Regions from separate parts of the Homo sapiens genome. Here region 2 is linked to region 1. Evidence: promoter capture Hi-C in human tissues and cell types (Jung and others, 2019). All regions are on one chromosome and are shown on one strand. Each heading gives the region's core, a stretch centred on a gene start or on the middle of the fragment in contact. The rest is flanking DNA. Distances are from core to core; before and after follow the strand shown. Region 1 holds the start of EEFSEC (eukaryotic elongation factor, selenocysteine-tRNA specific). Region 2 overlaps EEFSEC (eukaryotic elongation factor, selenocysteine-tRNA specific).

Region 1 (7,338 bases), core at 392-2,891:
GAATACATCCGCACATGGTCTGGCTCATCACAGAGGGCAAAGGTAAGATCCTGTGAACTTTGTGCTCCACCGCCACAGTGTTACAAAAACACTCTCTTCTCCAGAAAAATGGAAGGAGGAGGCAATGTTGGGCTAGCATTCCTGCCTGGTATCACTGGCTGAGACTGAGCAGTGGCTTCCCTCTTTGCACAGGAAAAGGGCTCTCCAGGTCTCCCAGGTCCCCACCACTCCCTGTCATCTTAGACTCTTTTAACTTCTCTTCTTTGATTTACCCACCACCTGGCCAGAGCAGACACTTAGGTTTGTTACCTCTGGTTGGTGACTATGGCTGACAACCTTTTTTGTGGTTCTAGACACTTCAGAATCTAGTGAGAGTTGTCGACCCTCTGTCTAGCAAGAGCACATCACAACACATTGTGCGTTCAATTTAGAGGTTTGTGGCCTCTCCTAAGCCCAGGCTACAGACTCTCAGGGTGAGAATTTCTGAGTCAGAGATAATGTTGTCCTCTTCCATCTTCAAACCATCTTTTCCCATGGTTGGCTCCTTCTCAACACTGGAGTTTCAACTCAAACAGCAACTCCTAGATGTCTTCCCTGACCCACAGTTAGGTAGCTGTCCATCCTCCCTCTCCTGCTCCTTTTTATCTCAGCTTTTATTTTCCCTAGGAGACTTCTCGCTCTCTGAAATGGTCTGGTTCAGGCTGTATTGTTTGACTTAGCCCTCACCCCCTGAATGTAATATTAGCGGGCACTGTAGCCCAGCGGAACCCACCAGGCACTTGGTAAGATCTTGCTGAAATGTATGAATGATTGGAAGTGTGTCCGGAGTTGGTTTCTTCCAGTGGGTTCCTAGTCTCGCTGACTTCAAGAATGGAGCCGCGGACCTTCGCAGTGAGTGTTAAAGCTCTTAAAGATGGCACAGTCCCAAAGAGTGAGCAGCAGCAAGATTTATTGTGAAGAGCAAAAAGCTTCTGCAATGCGAAAGGGCACCTGAGAGGGTTGCTGCTGCTGGCGGGGGTGGCCAGCTTTTATTCCCTTATTTGCCCCCTCCCCCACGTCCCCCCGCCCTCCCCCGCCCCCCGCCGTCCCCCCGCCCTCCCCCCCGCCCCCGTCTTCCCGCCCCCCCCGCCCCCGTCTTCCCCCCGCCCACCCCGCCCCCCCCGCCCCCCTTCGCCCCCCCATGTTCCGTTTTTGTCCTATCAGAGCGCCCTTTTTTCAATCCTCCCTGTGATTGGCTTCTTTTAGGATCCTGCTGATTGGTGCATGTTACAGAGCACTGATTGGTGCGTTTTACAGAGCGCTGATTGGTGCATTTTACAATCCTCTTGATAGCTATAGAAAAGTTCTCCAAGTCTCCACTCACCCAGAAAGTCCAAATGGCTTCACTTCTCAGAAGGATCCCTCCATCTCGGGCTCCTAGAGGCTTCAGGCAGGAGGAGCCACGTGAGAGAGAAACCCTGCCTACGGTGACCTCCAGTTCCTAGACCACCCACTCGGAGCACGGCGCTCGGCTGTGCCCGTGAGCCTCAGGAGGGCGGAAGCTTCCGGGCCGGAACGGGTGTGCACAGCGCGCCGGTTACGGGGGGGCAACTTAACGGGCCGGACCGCGGCGACTACCGAGGGAGGTGAGGGGCGGGCCGGGCGGGTGTCCGAGGCGGCGGCGGCGGCATGGCAGGGCGGCGGGTGAACGTGAACGTGGGCGTGCTGGGCCACATCGACAGCGGCAAGACGGCGCTGGCGCGGGCGCTAAGCACCACAGCCTCCACCGCCGCCTTTGACAAGCAGCCGCAGAGCCGCGAGCGCGGCATCACGCTCGATCTGGGCTTCTCGTGCTTCTCGGTGCCGCTGCCCGCGCGCCTGCGGTCGTCTTTGCCCGAGTTCCAGGCAGCGCCCGAGGCCGAGCCCGAGCCCGGCGAGCCACTGCTTCAGGTCACGCTGGTCGACTGCCCCGGGCACGCCTCCCTCATCCGGACCATCATCGGCGGTGAGCGCGGGCCGGGGCGGGAGCCGGGCTCAGGGACGCGGGCGGAGCGACCGGGCCCCGTGTCCGAATTCGCTCGAGCCTTTGCCGGGACGGGAAATCGCCCCACCTCATTGGTGGGGCTCCTGACGCCCCAAGAGGCGGACGTGACTTGCCTAGGGCTCCGCAGCAAGTGAGCGGAGGCTTTGAGATTCAGCTTTTCCCATCCAGCAGAACCGAGCTGCAAGGCGCCTTCCTTAAAAAAAAAAAAAAAAAAAAATCAAAAAATCCCTACCAAATGTGTTTATAATACATGGTCAAGTAAAGAAAACTCAAAATAAGAAAACTCACAAGCTACAAAAAGGGTATACATACAAAGGCTGTCTTCATTCACCTGTCATTTGGTCTGATTCCCGTTCCTAGAGCCAACCGCTGCTACCAGTTTTTGTATATCATTTCAGAAAGGCTCCACGTCAATACAAGCATATCTGTGTGTATGTATAAATCCCTCTTTCCCTCATCCTTTTAGACACGATTTCACTCAACATTGTGTCTGGAGAGTGCCCCATATCTGTACACAAAGCTACATCATTCTTTTTAAAGCTCACATAGAATTCAACTGCACCCTTGTACCAACATTTTCTTTTTCTTTTTTTTTTTTTCTTTTTGAGACAGAGTCTTGTTCTGTCGCCCAGCCTGGAGTGCAGTGGCACGATCTCGGCTCACTGCAACTTCCGCCTCCTGGGTTCAAGCGATTGTCCTGCCTCAGTCTCCTGAGTAGCTGGGATTACAGGCGCGCGCCACCACGCCCGGCTAATTTTTTTGTATTTTCAGTAGAGACGGGTTTCACCATGTTGGTCAGGCTGGTCTCAAACTCCTGACTTCATGACCCGCCCGCCCTGGCCTCCCAAAGTCCTGGGATTACAGGCGTGAGCCACCACGTCCGGCCTGTACCAACATTTTCTGAACAAATCTTTTAATGATGGACGTTTATGCTGTTTCCAGTATTTACAAACCATTTTGCAGTGAATATTCTAGAACAGAACTCTTTGGTATGTTCGCATATATGTAGGATAATAGATAATAACTGGCTGGGGCAAGGGGCATGTGTGTTTTCGGTCGTGGTGGGTACTGCCAAAATGCCCCACAAAGAGGTACCATTAATTTTTAATTATACATGTAATACATGAATACATGCTACTTGTGAAGAAATAGAACATCACAAATAAGACAAACATTCCCTTACCCACTCCTCTGTCCTAAATTCTGTACCCCTCCTATCTCTGCAAATGAAAAGACCCGTTTTTTGTTTTTTTGTTTTTTTGTTTTTTTCTGAGATGGAGTCTCGCTCTGTTACCAGGCTGGAGTGCAGTGGTGCAATCTTGGCTCACTGCAACCTCTTTCTCCCCGGTTCAAGCGATTCTCCTGCCTCAGCCTCCCAAGTAGCTGGGACTACAGGTGCACATCACCACACCTGGCTAATTTTTATATTTTTAGTAGACATGGGGTTTCACCATATTGGCCAGGATGGTCTTGATCTCGACCTCGTGATCCCCATGCCTCGGCCTCCCAAAGTGCTGGGATTACAGGTGTGAGCCACTGTGCCTGGCTGAAAAGACCATTATTATACCTTTGTGGATTACTTTTCCAGACCCATTTAACTCCACTTAAATATATGGATAGAGTTTTAAAACATGTTTTGTTTTTAGAAAAAATGATACAATAATATAAACACATGGTATAAAAGGGTATATAGCTAAAGAAGTATACTTCTCACTGCTGACCCCAGTACCTGATTACCTTTCTGTTCCCATTTTCTTGTGTTTCCTTCCAGCAATATTCTGTATGCCACACATGGGAATATATATTGGGCAGATGATAATTGGCTTGGTGGCAGATGGCCTCATTGGTCACTGGGCATTCTGGGTCCCAGCTATAATGGTGAGCTTGTTAAGTACAGTACTTCATCTTTGTTACCTCCCAACTGTTTCATGTTACAGGCAGTCTGAGATCATTTCCCCATTTTACAGTAGAGGAAATAGAAGTTTGAAGAAGTGAAGGGACTTGCTCAGGGTCACACTATCTAAAGTCTTCTCCTCAATCCATGTTTCAGTCAGGTGAATTTCAAGGGGCACACAATTCTCTACCCATTCCTCCCTGCCCCCTTATAACTGAATTCTGTTTGGTCACATCAAAGTACATTTTAGAACATGGACTCTGAGCCAGTCCAGACTGGAGGTGGAAGGCAGAGGTTAAAAAATGAGATGGCGAGTTTTTAGTGTTGTCTAGTAAATAGGGTAGATGAGTGGTGAAGGACATACTTTTGGAGTCAGACAAAACTGGGCTTGAAGCCTAGCTTGCTTTCTTCCTTAGCTGTATGACGTTTGAACCTAATTCTGGACCTTGCTCCAACTGGAAGATAGTGGTAACCACACAACTATTTATTGGCTTGACTTTTCTTGTGTATTTGCTGCTTACCAGGCAAACCCTGCAAGGAGCGTGGTGGTTACCATTTAATAGTTGAGAAAATTGGGACTTAGGGAGGCAGGTAGTTAGTGAAACAGTCCAGGTCTGCCTGACTCCAAAGCTGGAGTCCTTTGCATGCTTCCCCAGGTTACCCTATAGTTCCCTCATCCGCTTCCAACATACGTGCATACCTCATGTTATTGTGCTTCACTTGATTGTACTTTGCAGATAGTGGTTTTTACAAATCGAAGGTTCAAGGCAACCCATCCAACAGCATTGCTTACTTTGTGTCTCTATGCCACATTTGGGTTATTCTTAACAATATTTCAAACTTTTCATCAAATATTAAGCATCAAACATTTCACTTCATTTCAAACACATGTCATCTGTTAATGGTGATCTGGGATCAGTGATCTTTGATGTTACTATTGTAATTTTGAAATGTCACAAACAATGCTTATGTAAGGCAGCAAACTTAATAAATGTTGTGTGTTTTCTGACTGTTCTACCTACTGGCTTTTTCCCTGTCTGTCTCCCTCTCCTCAGGCCTCCCTATTCCCTGAGACACAACAATATTAAAATTCATCCAGCTAATAGCCTTTATGCGTTCAAGGGAAAGGAAGAGTTGCAAGTCTCTCACTTTAAATCAAAAGTTAGAAATGATTAAGCTTAGTGATGAAGGCAATGTTGAAGACTGAGATAGGCTGAAAGCAAGGCCTCTTACACCACACCAAACAGCAAAGTTTTGGACGCAAAGGAAAAGTTCCTGAAGGAAATTAAAAGTGCTACTGTAGTGAACACACAGATGATAAGAAAGCAAGACAGCTTTATTGCTTTATAGAGAAAGTTTTAGTGGTCTGGATAGAAAATCAAACCAGCTACCACATTCCCTTAAGTGGAAGCCTAATCCAGAGCAAGGCCCTAACTCTTCAATTCTATGAAGGCTGAGAGAGGTAAGGAAGCTGCAGAAGAAAAGTTTGAAGCTAGCAGAAGTTGGTTCATGAGGTTTGAGGAAAGAGGCCATCTCCAGAACATAAATGTACAAGATGAAACAACAAATGGTGATAGAGAAGCTGCAGCAAGTTATCCAGGAGATCTAGCTAAGATCATTGATGAAGGTGAGTACACTAAACAGATTTTCACTGTAGATGGAACAGCCTTATATGGAGAAGATGCTATGTAGGACTTTCATAGCTACAGAGAAGTCAATGACTGGGTACAAAGCTTCAAAGGACAGGCTGACTCTTGTTAGGGGCTAATGCAGCTGAAGCCATTGCTCATTGACCATTCCAAAAATCCTAGGGCCCTTAAGAATTATGCTAAATCTATTCAGCCTGTGCTCTTGAAATGGCACAACGCAGCCTGGATGACAGCACATCTGTTTATAGCATGGTTTACTGAATATTTTAAGCCCACTGTTGAGACCTACTGCTTAGAAAAAATACTCCTTTCAAAATATTACTGATTGTTGATAATGCACCTGGTCACCTAATGGCTCTGATGGAGATGTACAAAGAGATTAATTTGTTATCATGCTTGCTAACACAGCATCCATTCTGCAGTGTATGGGTCAAGGAGTAATTTTGACTTTCAGGTCTTATTATTTAAGAAATATATTTCATAAGGCCATAGCTGCCCAAGATAATAATTCCTCTGATGGATCTGGACAAAGTAAATTGAAAACCTTCTGGAAAGGATTTATCATTCTAGATGCCATAAAGAACATTTGTGATTCATGGGAGGAGGTAAAAATATCAACAGTAACAATAATTTGGAAGAGGTTGATTCCAACCCTCATGGATGACTGAGGGGTTCAAGACTTCAGTGGAGCAAGTCACTGCAGATGTGGTAGAAATAGCAAGAGAGTTAGAATGAGAAGTGGTGCCTGAGGATATGACTGAATTGCTACAATCTCATGATCAATCTTGAGTGGATGAGGAGTTGCTTCTTGTGCATGAGCAAAGAAAGTAGTTTCTTGAGATGGAACCTACTCCTGGTGAAGATGCTGTAAACATTGTTGAAATGACAACAAAGGATTTAGAATATTACATAAACTTAGTTGATAAAGCAGTGGCAAGATTTGAGAGGACTGACTCCAGTTTTGAAAGCAATTCTGTGAGTAAAATGCCATCAAACAGCTTCACATGCTACAGATAAATTTTTGTAAAAGGAAGAGTCACCTGATGTGGCAAACTTCATTGTCTTATTTCATTAGATTGCCACAGTCACCCCAACCTTCATCAACCACCACCCTGATCAGTCGGCAACCATCACCATTGAGGCAAGACCCTCCACCAGCAAAAAGATTATGACTTGCTGAAGGTTCAGTAATCATTAGCATTTTTTAGCAATGAATTATTTTAAAATTAAGGAATGTTTATTGTTTTTTGAGACATACTACTATTGCACACTTAATTGACGACATGTCATGTAAACATAACTTTTATACACATTGGGAAACCAAAAAATTTGACTTGCTTTATTGTGATATTCACTGTGCTGCAGTGGTCTGGAACTGAATGCACAATATCTTTGAGGTAAGCCTCATTTGTAGAGAAGCTCTTCATATTGCAAAAAAGTTTCAGCACTTGCCTGGTCCTATATAACCAATTGTAATGCCCTGAAGAATTTGGCAAGTTTTTTATTTAGACTAAAACTGTAGAAGAACTTATTTTTGTATGTACATTGTTGCTTATCTTTTGTCTCATCTCTGGAGTAGGGAGATTTATCTTCTTAAAATATGGCCTGAGTGGAATGGAATGCTGAGACCAAGGCTGCTACCATTCTTCCTTGAATACATCAGAGACCCACCTTCCTTTTCAGGGAATTGAGAAAAAACAATGTTTTTCTTGTAAAGAGAAGGTGTTCCCCATTGAGTGCCTGCTCGGGCCCAGGCCTGTTGCCAGGAACTT
Region 2 (6,696 bases), core at 2,933-5,432, 230 kb after region 1:
CCCAGGGCCCAGCACAGGCCCACGCCAGCCCACTGTGGCAGGGTAGGAATCCAAAGAGAAGTCTTCTAGCTTTTCAAGACAAACTAGAAGTTCAGAACTGTATGTCAAATGTCCTGATTTAAAAGGTGAGTTAGTAGTTCAAATATTTCAAAAATGCCATGGAGGCTAGATTCTACTCCCAAGCTAATATAGTTCTTTTTGATCTTTGTGAAAGTGGTGAGCCCCAGGAAGCCCAGGCACAGAGCCTAGCTAAGGAGGCCTTCTTAGAGGAGGCAGTACTGAGTTCCATCTTGGAGGAGGGTGGAGAGACAGCCTGGGGAGAGGTGTTCCAGGCAGAAGCGTCCGTGGCTCTGCCCAGGAGAGAAGGTACCACTGCTGCCCAGAGTGGCTGGGCTGTGGAGGACTACACAAGGGAACCAGATACCTAAATGCTGGAAGAGGTCGGGGTTTCCCCTGCAGCAGCCTGATGGAGCCTCCAGAAGACCTCATGGGCCATGTTGTGAGTGGACTGGTTCAGAGGTGATTTGTGGGGTCCAGCTGCCAGAATGGGGTGTCCCAGGATGGAGATGAGCAGACCAGAGCAGAGTGAGTGTGGGGGTGAAGTGCTCAGGACCCAGCATACACAGGTGGCATTGCCAGCTTGTGGGGGCCTTACCAAAGCCCTGTAGGCGGGCACCCGTCTCTCCCAGCATTCCCACATGCACGCATGCACAAGCACGCCAGTTGCTGGGGATGGAGTGGAGGGTACAAGGCCTGAGGTGGCTGTACCCCTGAGCCCCTAGGGAATGCAACTGAGGCTGGAGAGGGAACACGTCCAAGGTCAAGAACTCGTTGAGGGACCACATCAGAGGAACAGAGCTTTAACTTCATTCAGCCGCTGTTTCCCAAGCATTTGCTGGGCTAGTGCACAGGGGTTTCCTCACTGACTCCTCCTCACTGTCTGCCAAGAGAGGTGGTATTATCTATCCCCCTTCCACAGAGGAAATTACTGAGGGCCAAAGTGGTGCAGGGCTGTCCCCAGGTTGCCCGCACAAAAGCAGCAGTGGTGGGACAGGTCCCAGACCCCCCAGTTGCCCCCTGCTATCTCCCTGGAAGTCCATACTGGGTTTTGTTTGAATGTGGGGAAGACCAATACAGGCAGACCATCCTACCATTATGATTTTACCAAACCCCATAGATGTCAGGCTTCCTGGCCCAGGACAAGGAGTGGCAGAGGCATAGCTGCCAGGCACCTTGTCCTAGCCCAGCTCCCTCCTCCTCCAGAGAAAGTCCCCAGGCCACCCCAAGGTGTAGCATGCAGTCTGGACACCTCCAGGCTCTCCAGAGCAGTCCCAGCAGCTGCTATAGCTCAGACCCACGATAAGACCCAACCCTGTAGGTTTCAGAGCTGGCCACAGGGGCCAGGCAGGCAGCGCAGGAGAGTAGCCCGACTGGGGGACTGCAGTGGGGAGCGGGGAGTGTGGTGTACAGGGACCATACATCCTGTCTGAAGGGGCAGCCTGTGCTCACCTCAAGCCACCTGCTGCCCTGGGAATGCAGGCCCACATTTTAAAATGTTGACAACTAGTCCACAATTTTTAAAGCACATGAAGAGGCCAAAGCAAACATACCTAAGGGTCAACTTTGACCCACAGGCAGCAGATTGTGAGTGCGGCTGTGGCTTGCAGGGTGTCCTCCCACACACAGCTCAGTGAGCTTGCCATGCACCAGTCCCGATGAGAACAACAGTGGACACTAACATTTACTACATGCCCAGCACGTGCTGACTGTTTTATATGAGTTACCTCATTGACTTATGAGTTCCATTCCACCACTCACTGGCTAAGCTTGGAGAGTGCAAGGGCCTCACCCGGACTCACGATCTGGCTCATGAGGCTGGCCCTCTGCCCGCAGCCCTCAGCTCCCTAGCCTGAATCTGGGCAGAGGAACAAGAGGCAGGAGGCTGAGGCCTGGGGCACGACACTGATAGGCAGGTCAGCCCAGAACAGTCCAAGGAGGCCTGGTTCTAAGGGAGGGAACATCCCACGGTGGAACATGAGCAGCAGTTCCCCAAGTGGGCTGCTCACATCCACCCTGGGCGTGTGCAGGATGACTCTAGGTAGTCCACAAATAAGCCCCCAAAGAATGTTCACAGTTACATGTTGATTTTAACAGGTACTCTATTTATGTCAAGGGAGACTGGATTTCCACTTATGGCAGCATAGAATGTTCTCTAATTGAGTTAGATGAGTTGACTAAAGAAATCTTTAGTAAATAGTCGAAGTGGTGGCAATGGGTATGGCAGAACTAGTGATGCTGAGAAAGATTTGGGAAGTCCTGGGGGAGATTTGAGAGTTTTGATGGGTGAAGTAGGGTTCAGGTGGGCCTTCCAAGGGTGCATGAAATCTACCCCAGGGAGAGAAAGAATGACCTACAAGTTGGGGCCATACCCTAGCAGGCTGCAGGCTACCTATGCCCTGAAAACGTTCTCAAAAATCAGGAATTTTCATGTAAAAAATCCAGATTTCCAGTTTCTCTTGAAAAGCAGGGTGTTCTGTCCATGCTGAGCACATCCCCTCCAGTTCCCCAGGGCCCCCAGCCCTGTGGGATATGGTATCAGCTGAGACAGGCAGTGGGGGGGGGATGCAGTGACAGGTGACACCACAGCTGAGGGTAGTGAGGCCAGGCCTTCATGGTGGCACAGCCAGGCCCCATGGCTGCTGTGTGAGTCTGCATTGCTATAAAGGAACACCTGAGACTGGATAATTTATTTAAAATAAAATTTTAAAAAGGCTGTACAGGAAGTATGGCACCCGTATCTGCTTCTGGTGAGACCTCAGGAAGCTTACAATCATTGTGGAAGGCAAAGGGGGAGCAGGTGCATCACATGACAAGAGAAGGAGCAAGAGAGTGAGGAGGAGGTGCCAGGCTCCTTTAAACAACCGGCTCTCACATGGACTCACAGAGCGAGAACTCACTCATCACTGTGGTGAGGGCACCAAGCCACTCATGAGGGATCCGTGCCCATGATCTAACACCTCCCCCGAGGCCCACCTCCAACACTGGGGGTCACATTTCAACATGATATTTTGAGGGGACAGACATCCAAACCACATCATATGCTGGCCTCTGCAGCCTCCTCCCAGGCAGGGCTGCCAGGTGCTCACCCCTCATAGGCCTGGCTCTGTGAATTACCACAGGGCCCAGGTGAGGAGGATGGACAACTTGCCTGGTGGCGCGTGGGCAGCTCCCTCAGGGCTGGCAACACCAGCCACCCTCCTCGGCCCTGTGCTCCTCCACTGGTACTGCACCTGGCCGCAGGGGCTGCAGGGGTCACAGGGGTATGGGAGCCATGGACTGGGGGGCTTTGGCTCAGGAGGTGGCTCCTGAGGACAGAGGCAGTGTTCTGTCCCTTCTGGTCAGACCCATCTGCCCAGCATATGCTTGAGTTTTGCTTTCATAAAAATATCCACATGTCCTGGCAGTTCTCAATAGTTCTGACTATTTAGGAAAGATAAGTATACACCTTCTTCAAAGTTCAGAAATGAAGGTGCTGTGTGGCAAGACACAAAGGTGCATGAGTCCAGGCTCGCAAAAGTCGTGATGCCAAGAAAGATCTGGGAAGTCTGGGGGGCGTCGAAGAGTTTTGATGCGTGAAGTGGGGCTCGGGTGGGCCTTCTGAGGGTGCGAGAAATCTACCCCAGGGAGAACAGATACCAGCCTGAATTAAGTCGGCTGCTGGCCTCTCCTCAGCTCAGCCCAGAATGGGAGAGGAGGCTATGGACTGGCACGAAGAAGGATCTTTGTCACGTGTGCTTAGCATTGGATGGCAGGGCCAGGCTGGGCTGGCCCCTGTGGCACCACCAAGACCCCTCCCTACAGGCTCCACTGGGGCTGGGGAAAGGAATGTGCACCTATGGAGTCCTGCGCGCATATGGAGGCCCACTCAAACCCTGCGAGTGTATGGAGCCCCGCTTGCATGTTTGGAGCCCTGGCAGCCCCCACCTGATGTGCCTGCCCCAGGCAGCATGGAGCACTTCCTGGAGGAAGTAGGTCTCAGCCAGCCTTTTCTAGATGGGCACGGGCAGGCACTGGATGGCTATTTAGGCATGAGGGTGCCACGAGCAGAGACCTGGAAGCTCAAGTAAGGTGCAGCCATTAGGGTGCCAGGAGAAGGAGGCCTAGTGGCCCAGCCAGCCCCTGGGGTTGCCCTGTCCAGAGCCTACACCCACCAGGTCCTCACTCTGAACTGGCAGTGGCAGAACCACGACTTGAGAAAAAAAGTCCTTTCTCTGAGCTCTGTTCCTCTTTCCATTGCTCCCGCTCTTAGAGTCTTCCTTTTTTTAATATCCAATTTGGTCGCCTTCCTTGGGGACAGCCACAGAAGGGGTCCAGCCCTGTTGGCAGCCTCTTGCCCCCGCCTCCACTAACTCGCCTCCAGCACTACCTCCTCTAGCTGCCTGCATGCCAAGTCCCCCTCCAGTGCTTCCTGACACCCCTTCTCGGACCCCTCAATTTATCTACAGTCCATCTCTGCCTTCGAGCTCCTCCAGGGTGGGGAACAGGGAACAATCTGCCTGCCATGAGTCCGCAGCCACCAGCAGCGGGCTTGGCCAGGGTCCACGCTCTGTAACTGCCGTTTAGGTGGGGTCTGAGCCCCCGGCTGCCTGTGACATGTCTGCCCAGGTGGGCTGTGTCTCCACTGCAGCACCCACTGCTCTCCAGTGAGGGACTGGCCTGGCCCGAGCCTCCTGAGTTTGCTGAGTGAGGCCACTGCTGTGTAAGGCCCATTCCCTGGTGTAGTCTGCCTGTACCCCTCATCCCTTTGCCTCTTCGAGGCCTTCTCCTGGTCGACTGTGTGCTTTCAGTGGTGCCGGCCAGAGCGTCTAGCAGAGAGGCCAACTGCTGCCTCTAGCCCCTGAGCCCTTGCAGGGGTGTTTTTTGAAACTCAGTCCAGAAGACGTGAAATGGAGGAGGGCTGTCTGTCTTGCCTTCCTGACTAGAGGTAGAGGGTCCCCAAGCTGCAGGTCTGCTGTTGGTTCTTCAGGGCCTCTTCAGTCCACCTGACACCCACTCTTGATTTCTGGGTCAGGAGCCTGAGGAACTGCCTGGACTGTCCCTGTGCCTCATGTGGTGCTGGGACCCAGGAGCCACAAGAGGTAGTCAGCTGGGGCCACCACCTGAAGGGCAGTCTGTAGGGCAGGAGTTCCAGGCAAGGGAGCCGGTGTGCCCTGGGCCGAGGCAGCCTGCGGTGTCCTGTGGCCGGAGCCATGGGGATGGAGGCTGGAGGGAGGCAGGCAGGCAGAGGTGCTGCAGCGAGGCATCTTAACCCAGCTAAGGAGGGAGCGCAGACATCTGGAGCAGCAAGGGTGCTGACACTCACCCGAGGACATCACAGCCCTGCAGAGGAGGAAGACAAGCCAGGCCGCCCACCACTCTGGCAGGCATTTTGGTTGGGGATGGGCGGGCATAACAGGACACAGGAGGTCATCCGATGTCCACATTTCCCCACACAGAGTGGTCCTGCCTGGCACCGTCTCAGCCATCCCAGACAGATTTTCTGTTCAGCCTTGGTTGCCATATGAGGACTCCACCCAGAGGGCCCACATGGCCTCCTAAGTCACAAGTGGTTGGTGGTAAACCCAGGCCTAGAGCCCAGGTTTCTGGCTATCCCCCTGGAAGAGGCCCACCTTGGGCACTTGGGAACAACCCCTGACCATCCTTGAGCCCACGCTGCTGGGTGAGGCTGGCCGCCTTGCTGCAGGAAGCCTGGTTTATAAACAAGTCCAGTTACAGGAAGATCGGGAGGGTTTTTGGTTTTCACTGGACGTGGTTGTTTCATGGACCCACCCCAACAGGGAGCATGGCATGCTTGACCTTGGGAAAGGGAGGCCTTGGCTTAACGCCGAGAGCCTCATCTGCCAGCAGAGTGATGTGGTGTGGACTGAGGCTGCTCCAGCAGAATGGGCAGGGCAGGCCCCAGATGTGAACTAACTAGCTTGAGAGAGCACCTAGCCGGTCAAGCCTAGCCCACGTGGATCCAGTCCCACCTTCTTTCCATGTTGGTAGCAGAAGCTGGGAGTCCGGTTGCAGGGGTGGCTGAGTTGGCAGCGCCCGTAAGATGCTGTGGATTTGGATTTGGGTCCTGGAGGCAGGGAGGCCCAGTGTCATGGGTATGCTACCACCACACAACTATTTTAAAATAGAAGGCGCTGGCCCTAAATTTTTCTCGTATCATCACATTTATCTGCATCTTGTGAAAGTGCTTTGCCTCATGAACAGTCCCATAGTTGGGACTGTTTCTCCTGGATATAATTTACATTGTTGTGACAACTCAAAGTCATGATTAACACAAAAGTGGGACTTGGGGTCACTCAGTGGAGTGATCTGTGCAGTCACTTCTCCTCATTCATCCTCTCACCTGTCCGCTCTGTTAATGTGTACTATATAGAGGAGGTGGCATTTGCTGGGGAGAGCTGGCTGTGAGATGGGCATGGGCCCAGGAACAAGCACAGCCAGGCTCAGGAGGGGTGCATGTGGGGAAGGGACCTTTTCGCCTCTTTGCCACTGTATTTTGGGAGGTAGAGGGGGTTAGAGCTTTGACCACCACAGAAGGGGGTGAGACAGATGTGAATCACCTTCGCCAAATGAAAAAACCTAACCCAGAATGTTAGTTGCTTTGGGCTTCTGTGTCTGAAAGAGAGAGGCCCTTGCTTG

Evidence for each region. Contacts are between HindIII fragments. The study calls those that stand out against the background at their distance.
Region 2: a fragment that was not itself captured here is called in contact with the fragment with the promoter of EEFSEC in region 1 in 1 of the 25 tissues and cell types used here (lymphoblastoid cells).

The regions. Positions count from the first base shown.
Region 1 is chr3:128,151,840-128,159,177 of GRCh38, forward strand. EEFSEC (eukaryotic elongation factor, selenocysteine-tRNA specific) reads left to right here and starts at 1,642. Exons shown (of 7, transcript NM_021937.5): 1 at 1,642-1,984. The coding sequence starts at 1,669. It also overlaps a transcript of RUVBL1 not described here. RefSeq lists an enhancer at 1,273-1,502 and a silencer at 1,633-2,152. The HindIII fragment of the contact is 4,118 bases long and covers 1,255-5,372 here.
Region 2 is chr3:128,383,868-128,390,563 of GRCh38, forward strand. The region is part of intron 6 of EEFSEC (eukaryotic elongation factor, selenocysteine-tRNA specific); the gene reads left to right. Among named protein-coding and RNA genes, the nearest start is that of DNAJB8-AS1, 76 kb to the right of the region's middle. RefSeq lists a silencer at 1,539-1,833 and enhancers at 4,593-5,182, 5,183-5,770. The HindIII fragment of the contact is 3,717 bases long and covers 2,325-6,041 here.